Regions from separate parts of the Homo sapiens genome. Here region 1 is linked to region 2. The links are contacts of gene promoters, found by promoter capture Hi-C in blood cells and fetal thymus (Javierre and others, 2016). All regions are on one chromosome and are shown on one strand. The core of a region is centred on a gene start or on the middle of the fragment in contact, and the rest is flanking DNA. Distances in the headings are between cores, read along the strand shown. Region 1 overlaps LINC00265 (long intergenic non-protein coding RNA 265). Region 2 holds the start of STARD3NL (STARD3 N-terminal like).

Region 1 (4,776 bases), core at 2,133-4,632, 1.6 Mb before region 2:
TGCTCAGCTAATTTTTGTATTTCTACTAGCGGTGGGGTTTCACCATATTGGCCAGGCTGGTCTCAAACTCCTGACTTGGTGATCTGCCTTCCTTGCCCTCCCAAAGTGCTGGGATTACAGGCATAAGCCACTGTGCCTTCCCTTATATATATTTTTCTAACTTATCTATAAAACTTGTATCTTTACAGGCACGGTGGCTCACGCCTGTAATCCCAGCACTTTGGGAGGCTAAGGTGGGTGGATCACTTGAGGTCAGGAGTTCGAGACCAGCCTGACCAACATGGTGAAACCCAGTCTCTACTAAAAATACAAAAGTTAGCCAGGCATGGTGGTGCATATCTGTAATCCCAAGTACTCAGGAGGGTGAGGCAGGAGAATTGCTTGAACTTGGGAGGCAGAAGTTGCAGTGAGCCAATATGGCACCACTACACTCCAGCCTGGGTGACAGGCAAGACTCTGTCTCAAACAAAACAAAACAAAACAAACAAACAAACATATATATATATATATATATATATATATATATTTTTTTTTTTTTTTTTTAGCTATTTTACTCACTATAAGACAGCCCAGCTATTGATAAACAGATGATTGCCTCCCCTAAGAACCTGTAGATAGATCCAGAATGGTGTTCCAGCCACAACCACGTTAGTCATGGTACTTTGTAGGTATGACCTCAATTTTAGAGCTTCCTTTTCTAGACCCATAAAAGTGAAGATAGTTTTGTTTTGAGGGCTTAAAATTATTCAACATATGTAAAGCATTTTTGTTAACTGACACACAAAAGACACCAATAAATGTCATTGCCCTGCTTTTGGTGTATCCAAGGAACTTAATTTCAGAATTTGGGTTTCAGATACACCACATCATTTCAAAAGATGCCCAGTTTTCCAGGGCATTAATAAATAGTCTGTAGTCTCTCTTGTTTTGATAAAGTATTTTTGTCTTTGTGTCAGTTACTTTGGATAAAAATTGCCAACAGTTCCTGGACCCTTTTCCTTCAAGAGAGCAAAAGAAATGGGATTGGTGGGTTAGGACAGATATTCTTTTTTTTTTTCTTTGAGGCAGGGTCTCTCTCTGTCGCCCAGGCTGGAGTGCAATGGGATGATCTCGGTGCACTGCAACCTCCACCTCCCAGGTTCAAGCGATTCTCCTGGCTGAGCCTCCCAAGTAGCTGGGTCTATAGGTGTGTGCCACCACACTTGGCTAATTTTTGTCTTTTTAGTTGAGATGGGGTTTCATCATACTGGTCAGGCTGGTCTCGAACTCCTGACCTCAAGTGATCCACCCACCTTGGCCTCCCAAAGTGCTGGGATTACAGTCATGAGCCACCGCACCTGGCCTCAGGTATTCTTGTTTAATCCTGTCAGCAGGTTGAGTTGCCGCACTTGTGCTCCAAGTTTGATATATAAAGGATCAACATCTGAAAGGGTTTAGAAGAAGCCAGACTGTTTGTGAGGTTTCCACCTACGCCCCTCTGGGCTCTGATACTGTAACAGCATGGAGGTGGCATACGTCTCAGGATCCCTGGAGAACAGCAGGTGGGCTCTTTGACTGTATTTTTCTATTCAACATAGTTAACCAAGTGACTTCAGACAGACCAACCGACTATGCCACACTCAACAGTCCCTGGCCTCAAAGCTTCTGCCTCCTAAGTTTCTTTTTTTTTTCTTTCAATAAGCCCAACCAGAAGGACAAGCCATAGGCATAAGCATAGCATTTGGTGGGTAGAGAGGAAACTGAAGTCCCTTCCAAACAAAACTCCATGTCCTCAATATGTTAAGAGGTACCTCCCCCAACATGGCTAGTCCTAGTATAAATCCAACGTCTTGCTGATGTTCCAAAGGAGAAAAATGCAACTGTCAGAAGCCTGATAGACTATGAAGCATATAAGTACATGAAAGCTACATAGTTGGCTGGGCACAGTGGCTCACACCTGTAATCCCAGCACTTTGGGAGGCTGAAGCAGGAGGTTCGCTTGAGCCCAGGAGATTGAGATCAGCCTCAGCAACATAATGAGACCCTGTCTCTATATAAAATAAAAATAAAATATTAGCCAGGCATGGTGGCATGGTGGCATTATCCTAGCTACTCCAGAGGCTGAGGCAAGAGGATTGCTTGAGCCCGGGAGGTTGAATCTGCAGTGAGTCGTGATTGTGCCACTGCACTCCAGCCTGGGCAACAGAGTGAGACCCTATCTCAAAAAAAAGAAAAAGAATACTACATAATTTATGAAACAGAAGTTCATTTATACTGTGACAGTGTGTAAATATTGCAATTCTTTCAGTAAGACAGAAACTAAAAACAAAGGTTAACTTACGAATATGTTCATATAAAGAGACCACATTGGCAAAAGAAGAGATATGTGTGGAAAATCTTTCTATTTTATCCACTAAAAAAGCTACCCCATTTTCTCACCTCTCCAAACGATAATAATAGCTAAGATTTACATACCACTTAGTAACGCTTCATATGCATTCACTCATTCATTCCCCATAACTACCCATGAGGCAGATAGTATTTTTCTCACTAGTTTACAGATGAGGAAACTGAGGTCGTTAACCATCAGCCCTAGCAGCACGAGCCTTGCTACTTCACTTTGTCATCACTCAGCTCTTTCAGTGGTTTTTGAGGCCTGGCTAAAGGCCAGTCTCCCTGGTCTAGGATTATTGGTTCTGAGATAAGAACTGCCAGACCTCCATGCACCCTAGGGATAGCTTCCTGCCACCAGCTGAGATCAGTGATGCTGGGTTATCCATAGCTAAAAAGGGCTGTCATCACTGAGACTGTCGGCATCCCTGCAATCTGGCTGGCTCCTGCCTGGTTCACCCACCTCCAGGTTGTTAAGTTAGGTCAGAAATGGGGGGCTTGTCTCTCACTGGTTTATTCCTCTTGAGAGCTACTTAGAGAAGTGGAGAGATCAATACTCTTGAATGGAAGAAGGACATGAGTCCATAGGTCAGGAGAGATCTGAGCTGCCAGTAAAGAGGTAGGAACTATCTGCAGAGAGGGTACTTGAGGTGAGAAGCCAGCTTAGGCCAGTACCCACAGGGATGCCAACATCTAAGCATCTGGCAGATGACTTGGTGTTATTTCCTTAAGCTCCATAATTACCTCTAGTTTGTTATTCTCCTTGCATCCAATTGTGTTTCCATAATAAAAACTGCAAAACCCTTAATTATGGCAAAGTTCTGTAACCTTGTCTTTGGGAATAGTGAGGACAGAGGGAATGTAAGAGACAGGGTCCCATTTTACAGCAGATTACAGTAAATCTAACTTTTTTCCTATTTTATTATTTATTTATTTTTGATTGTTGTTGTTGTTGTTGTTGTTGTTTTTGTTTTTTTTTTTTTTTGAGACGGAGTCTTACACTGTCACCCAGGCTGGAGTGCAGTGCCATGATCTCAGCTCACTGCAACCCCCGCCTCCCAGGTTTCAAGCAATTCCCCTGCCTCAGCCTCCAGAGTAACTGGGATTACAGGCGTGCACTATGCCCGGCTAATTTTTGTTTTTGTTTTTTTTCAAGACCGAGTCTTGCTCTGTCATCTAGGCTGGAGTGCAGTGGCACGATCTCAGCTCACTACAATCTCCACCTCCTGGGTTCAAGAGATTCTCCTGCCTCAGCCTCTCGAGTAGCTGGGATTACAGGCACACACACTATGCCTGGCTAATTTTTGTACTTTTAGTAGAGACAGGGTTTCACCATGTTGGCCAGGCTGGTCTCGAACTTCTGACCTCGTGATCCGCCCACCTTGGCCTTTCAAAGTGCTGGGATTACAGGTGTGTGCCACTGTGCCTGGCCTAGGGTAAATCTATATATAAAAAAACTGATGCCTGGAACGGGAAGGAGACTAGCAAATTAAGGTACAGACCTCTCAAGATCTACTGGAGGGGAGAGTGAAGTGACCAGGGTAAGAGAGAAGCAAGCTGAAGCCCTAGGAATTCCAGAAGTGGGAGGTGAGGTGGAGAGAGGAAGACCAGGAAGCCAGACTAGCTTAAAGAGGAACGAGTTAACAGAAGAATAAGCATTATGACCCAACACAGAATACAAATTTAATAAGAACCCATTTTCTTTATTAAAAATTAAAGACATAATGGCCATTTATTAAAAGCCATGTGTTTGGCACTTTTTGTAGTGGTTTCACATAATTCTAGGGGCATCCCACTGAAGAAGGGTTTACAATCCTCATTCTACAAATGGGGAAGCAGAGGCTCTGAAGGATCTCCTTGTGAATTGCTAATTAGAAGCTCTGGAAATTACCTATGTTCTGACTCAGCCACTTCCTCACTGTGGGACCTGGGGCACGTCACTTCATCTTGAACCCTTGAAAGACACCTGGCAGCTGAGCGACCCCTCTGACTGGGAGTCACAGGACTCTAGGGGTTCTAATGTCCCTCCACTGCACTGTCCCCCTGCCCCCTGCATTCTGTCAACCTTAAACAATGAAGTTCAGAAAATGTAAATAAGCATAGAGTTTATTTAAACACAAAGATTGAGGATGGCCATCCAGGAAAGCGCTGACTCCAAACAAATGATGTCAGCGTTTCCAAGGTGAAGTTAAGGTTTCAATTATATAGACGGAGGCAGGGACATTCCAGCAGGATTACAAATGTGCATGCAAGTTGCATACCTACAACGATGTGGTTGGTTTCAGATTGCTACATTCCAAGGAAGATTATGACTGTGAGGAGGGACAATGATCTAAAGGGGTCTTACCTTGGATGCTACTTGGTCTTCTTAATTATTTACAGCGGAAAAAGGCAGAGGTTGCATCT
Region 2 (4,467 bases), core at 1,403-3,902:
GTGAAAATTTGATAGAAGTTTGGCCATTAGATGCATTATTTTAAAACTCACTGACCTTCTCTGGGCCTCCACAGCCCTAGCTCTAAACTAAGAGGGGTGAATCATGTGATCTCTAAAATGCCACATCATAAAACATAATTTTAAGTAATAGAGACTTGCTGCTCAGGGTAGCAAGGTTGGAGGTTAACAGGAGGTGGGGTAGAATGAATTAGGCTTTGAAGTAAACCTAATGGGAGTTCAAATACAAGCTCCATCAGTACTAGCTCAGTAGCTGAAGTGTAAGTTTCCCTCACTATCAAAAAGGCTTAATATTTTCCTTTGCCACAAGTTGGAAGGAATAGAATGTATGTAACATACCTGGCATATCGTAGGTACTAAAAAAAGGCAAGCGTTATGTTCCTGGTCAGTAATACAAGCTCTAATGAAGAACAATAATCCACTTGCCAATGCAGCTTCCTAGAATTTGGCTTGGAGAAGAGCAGGGACCAACTGCCACTGCTTTCCAAGTGGAAGGCAGGTACAGGTAATAAGAAAGAGTATTCACGGTTGGAAGTAGAAAGGATTAAAAGCAGGGAGCTTAAGAAAAAGCAAAGACTTTGAGTTCTGCATATAACAATGGAAAGGAAACAAACTACATCGGATAAGGTGCTGAAGGAAACAAGATCTTTTCATTAAGAGGGCCTCTGGAGAAAAAATATATACACAATAAATTACTGCAATGATTTCATAACCAAAACAAAGCAGAAAGTTGGCTAGAGTTTATGAGTATCACTAAAAGAAAACAAGACTCTGCAGTACACAAATTATCTTTCCCTTGCCTGCCTGTAAGGCTCACATGGGATACAAGATGATCCAATCCCTGTACACCTCTCCAGTGTCACCTCTGACCACTGTCTCCTCACCTCACCCTCCCCTAGGTTCACTCAGCTCCAGCCACACGGGCTTCCCTCTGTCCCTGGAACATGCCAAGTTCATTCTTCCTTTAGCTCCTTTACACTGTTTATATCTGCCTAGAAACTTCCAGCCCATTTTCTCATGGCTGACTCAGCTAAACATTCAGCTATCACCCAAAATGTCACCTCGTGTTACCTCCTTAGGGAGGTCTTCCCTGACCATCCCATTTCTCCATACAACCCAGTCACTCTCAAACTCTCTACCCAGTAGTATCTTTTCTGACATTTATTCCTATCTAAACTTGTCTCTTTGATTTACATGTTTATTATATTCTCCAACAAAAGTTAAAGTCTTTGAGGGTATGGGCCTTATCTAAATTGCTCACTACTCAATCTCTAAAACCTAAAACAATGAGTGGCATAGACAATCACTCAGGCAAACTGTCCATTGAATAAATCCAAATGATGTTAATCACCATCCTTCTGTGAACATAAGTAAGGTAATATCCCTCAGAGGCTGTTTCATTTCATTTCTTTCATGCAGTTTTAGGCAATGCAATAATGCAGTTTTAAAAGACCAATGTTTGAGACAGTTAGATTTTAAAGACAGTGACTTCTACACGACAACATATTGTATGTTTTCATTTTATGAACATGAATAATCCACCACCTTATCAGAATCCATCAATAAAACAAGGATACCATAAGTCGTTTTGTGAGATCCTGCTTCTAGAAAGAGGCGTATGGGTAGATATGGTATACAGACGGGAATTACCTTTCAGAATTCTTCCTAACAAGGAAATGTGGCAAACTGGACTAATTCCAGTAAAGATTTAATTAGACCCGTTACTTGGTTACCTTGCTAAACTTATCCAAACTAGTACTGTGTCAAGTGATGAATTCAGTGATTCCATCTGTGAAATAGAAGACAAATGACACAGTGAACAAAGAAAAGTTCCACAATGTCCACCCATGTTTGAACTAAAAGAGAGGGGGAAAAATCCCTAACCCTAAATCAAAAGTATTCAAGCAACTAAGATTTCAAACAATGGCGAGATATCTACGAGTAGGTGAAGCAGTTAACTGAAACCACAGGGAGAACATTCATGATTCGTGCTTTCTTTCTTTTTTTTTTTTTTGAACACGACTTTTCTCAATGAATAGAAGAGACTCACAACCGCCTGTGTCTGGACAACCCACGCATTACACCCAGTCACCAATTCTTGGTCCTTCTTGGGGGCCCATGGCGCCAGCCCGGGGCCGACCCCACCGGGGACTCCTCAGGGTCCGCAGGCTGGAGGAATGAGGACACTCCCGCTACCTATATCCATCCCTGAATCCCGGCCCACGCCGTGGGAGCAGCGGGGCTCAGCATTCTGCAACTTCACTCTTGTGTCCATTATGAGCACAGCCTGCCTCGCCCCTCCTCCTCCCCTGGAGGCTCGCGCAGGACTCAGGAAACAGAACAGGACCAGGATATGGCCTCCGTCCGCGGGTCCCCTGTACGCCCCCATGTAAGTCATCTGACCCAGGAGACTCAGTTTTCCAACCTGTCAAATAGGGGAACGAGAAACCCAGCCTACCTTAACGGGTGGTTCCTGGCCGGCCGCCCCAGGCTGGCCCGGGAACTGCGGATCCGCGGTCGCGCCCCGGCCTGAGGGGCGGGGCTTGGCGGGGCGTGACCGGGACCCAGTCCAGCGGACAACGCGCAGCCCACCGCCCGCACCCAGCAGCCCCGGGACCTCCGGCCCGTGACGTCAGCACGCTGACGTCGACGCACACAGCTCGCATCTCGCTCGAGGGACCAAAGACCCGACTGGTTCCTGAGTGCCTCCATAGAGGAGCCAACCTATTGGCCAGATGACATGTCAATCTTCTACTGACCAGTAAACGACGCGGGAAGGAGGGAGAGGGCGAGCCGGTCTGCCTGTAGGAATGGGTGGGAAATCTGGGCATCCAGCTTTGAAACACGGAGCTGGTTGGACTTTCCCGCATTGTGCATCGCACGGTTTAACAAGCGCCCGCTTCCTCTTCGTCCGCGTTTCTGCGCCTTCCGCTTCCCTTCAGTTATTCGGTGGGGGTTTATGCTCCAGCTCGTGGGAAAATGTCATGGAAATGGGTTTCAGGGCCTCTTGGGCACCTCATGCTGAGCCCTCCAGGAATAAAAACAGGGCATACCATTTCTATGTCGGTACTCAGCTCAAGAGTCACCTCTTCTAACTCTCACTTCCCCCAGACCTATTTAGGATACCTTTTCTCAGCGCTCCTAGTTCATAACTAACATCTCTAAGCGGTAGTCACATTTAATTATATCTATATGTCTGTTTTCACACGAAGTTAGGCACCTTTTATTGTTTTATTTAAAATTTAATTAAACTTTTCTCCCAACGGATGCTACACTTATTCACATTTTTAGAAGTACAGAGGTATACAGTGAACATTCTTTGGATCCCCATTTCATTATTTGTATATTTTTCCAAAGTCATTCTAAGTACCGTTATTAATTTTAAATTACACAAGTAAGATTTTGTCCATGCGAAAAAAAAAAAAAGCTTAAACGTTACAATTATGCTTATATCCCTTTTAGGCCCTAATTACAAACCCAGTCTGTAGATGATGACTCCTAGTTCCTGTGCATTTGCAAGTGTAGATGTTACTTTTTTACACTTAGCATTGAAATCTTTCCATATCTGTATATAAATCTACCTCATTCTCTGAAAATGCTGCATGTCCTCAGAACCAATATGTGTATATATATACATACATAATTAATGTACCATTCCCCCACCCTCACGTTTGTTTATTAATATTATTATGAGAAGCAATGGTACCATAAATATATATGTAGATGCCTTTTTGTACTTAGGTCCAAGTATTTCTCTAGAGTGCAGATACCAACAAGAGAATGTACTGGATCACAGAGTTTGCACGATGTAAATCCTTAATAGATTTCACTGATTTGCTCCCCTGAGTAGTTGTTTTAACTTACATTCCCACTGCTAGTATTTGAGCAATTTTTCCCTGTATCCTCGCCAATACTGATAAAATACAATTTAAAAAAATTTTATAAACTGATAGATGTGAAAACCTTTTAAAGCATAACACATATACAAAATAAGTGTAATAATCATAAGTGCTTGTCTTAGTGACAGTGTGAACAAACTTGTGTAACCACCGCCTCACAGCAAAATTTTAAATGTTTACCAGCAATTTAGAAGCTTTCCTCATGCTCAGTCTTAGTCATTATACCCCTACACACAGATAGGCACAATTCTGAATCCTACCACCCAATTAGTTTTGCCTGCTTCTGAATGTTTATAAATAGTCATACATAATACGCACTCTTATGTGGCTCTTTTTGCTTAATACTATATTTGTAAGATTGATCCATATTCAAGAATATAATAGTTTCATTTTCATTTTTGTATATAATTCTAAAATTTACTTGCCTATTCTACTGTTGTTTGACATTAGATTATTTAAAGTTTGGGGTAATTACAAATGACGCTGCTATGAATATTCTTGTACCTGTCTTATGATGCACATAGTTACACATTTGATTTTGGAAGATCCC

What was found. The method cuts DNA at HindIII sites, captures the fragments that hold promoters and counts their contacts. A CHiCAGO score of 5 or more calls a contact.
Region 1: a contact is called between a fragment that was not itself captured here and the fragment with the promoter of STARD3NL in region 2, in 1 of 17 cell types (fetal thymus). The highest score is 8.2, in fetal thymus.

The regions. Positions count from the first base shown.
Region 1 is chr7:39,733,986-39,738,761 of GRCh38, reverse strand. It overlaps LINC00265 (long intergenic non-protein coding RNA 265), which reads right to left. Exons shown (of 12, transcript NR_026999.1): 1 at 4,718-4,776. Among named protein-coding and RNA genes, the nearest start is that of LINC00265, 2.8 kb to the right of the region's middle. RefSeq lists enhancers at 3,199-3,970, 4,175-4,776. The HindIII fragment of the contact is 3,477 bases long and covers 1,644-4,776 here.
Region 2 is chr7:38,176,430-38,180,896 of GRCh38, reverse strand. STARD3NL (STARD3 N-terminal like) reads right to left here and starts at 2,652. Exons shown (of 9, transcript NM_032016.4): 1 at 2,477-2,652. RefSeq lists a silencer at 2,396-2,675 and an enhancer at 2,926-3,005. The HindIII fragment of the contact is 5,243 bases long and covers 1-3,447 here.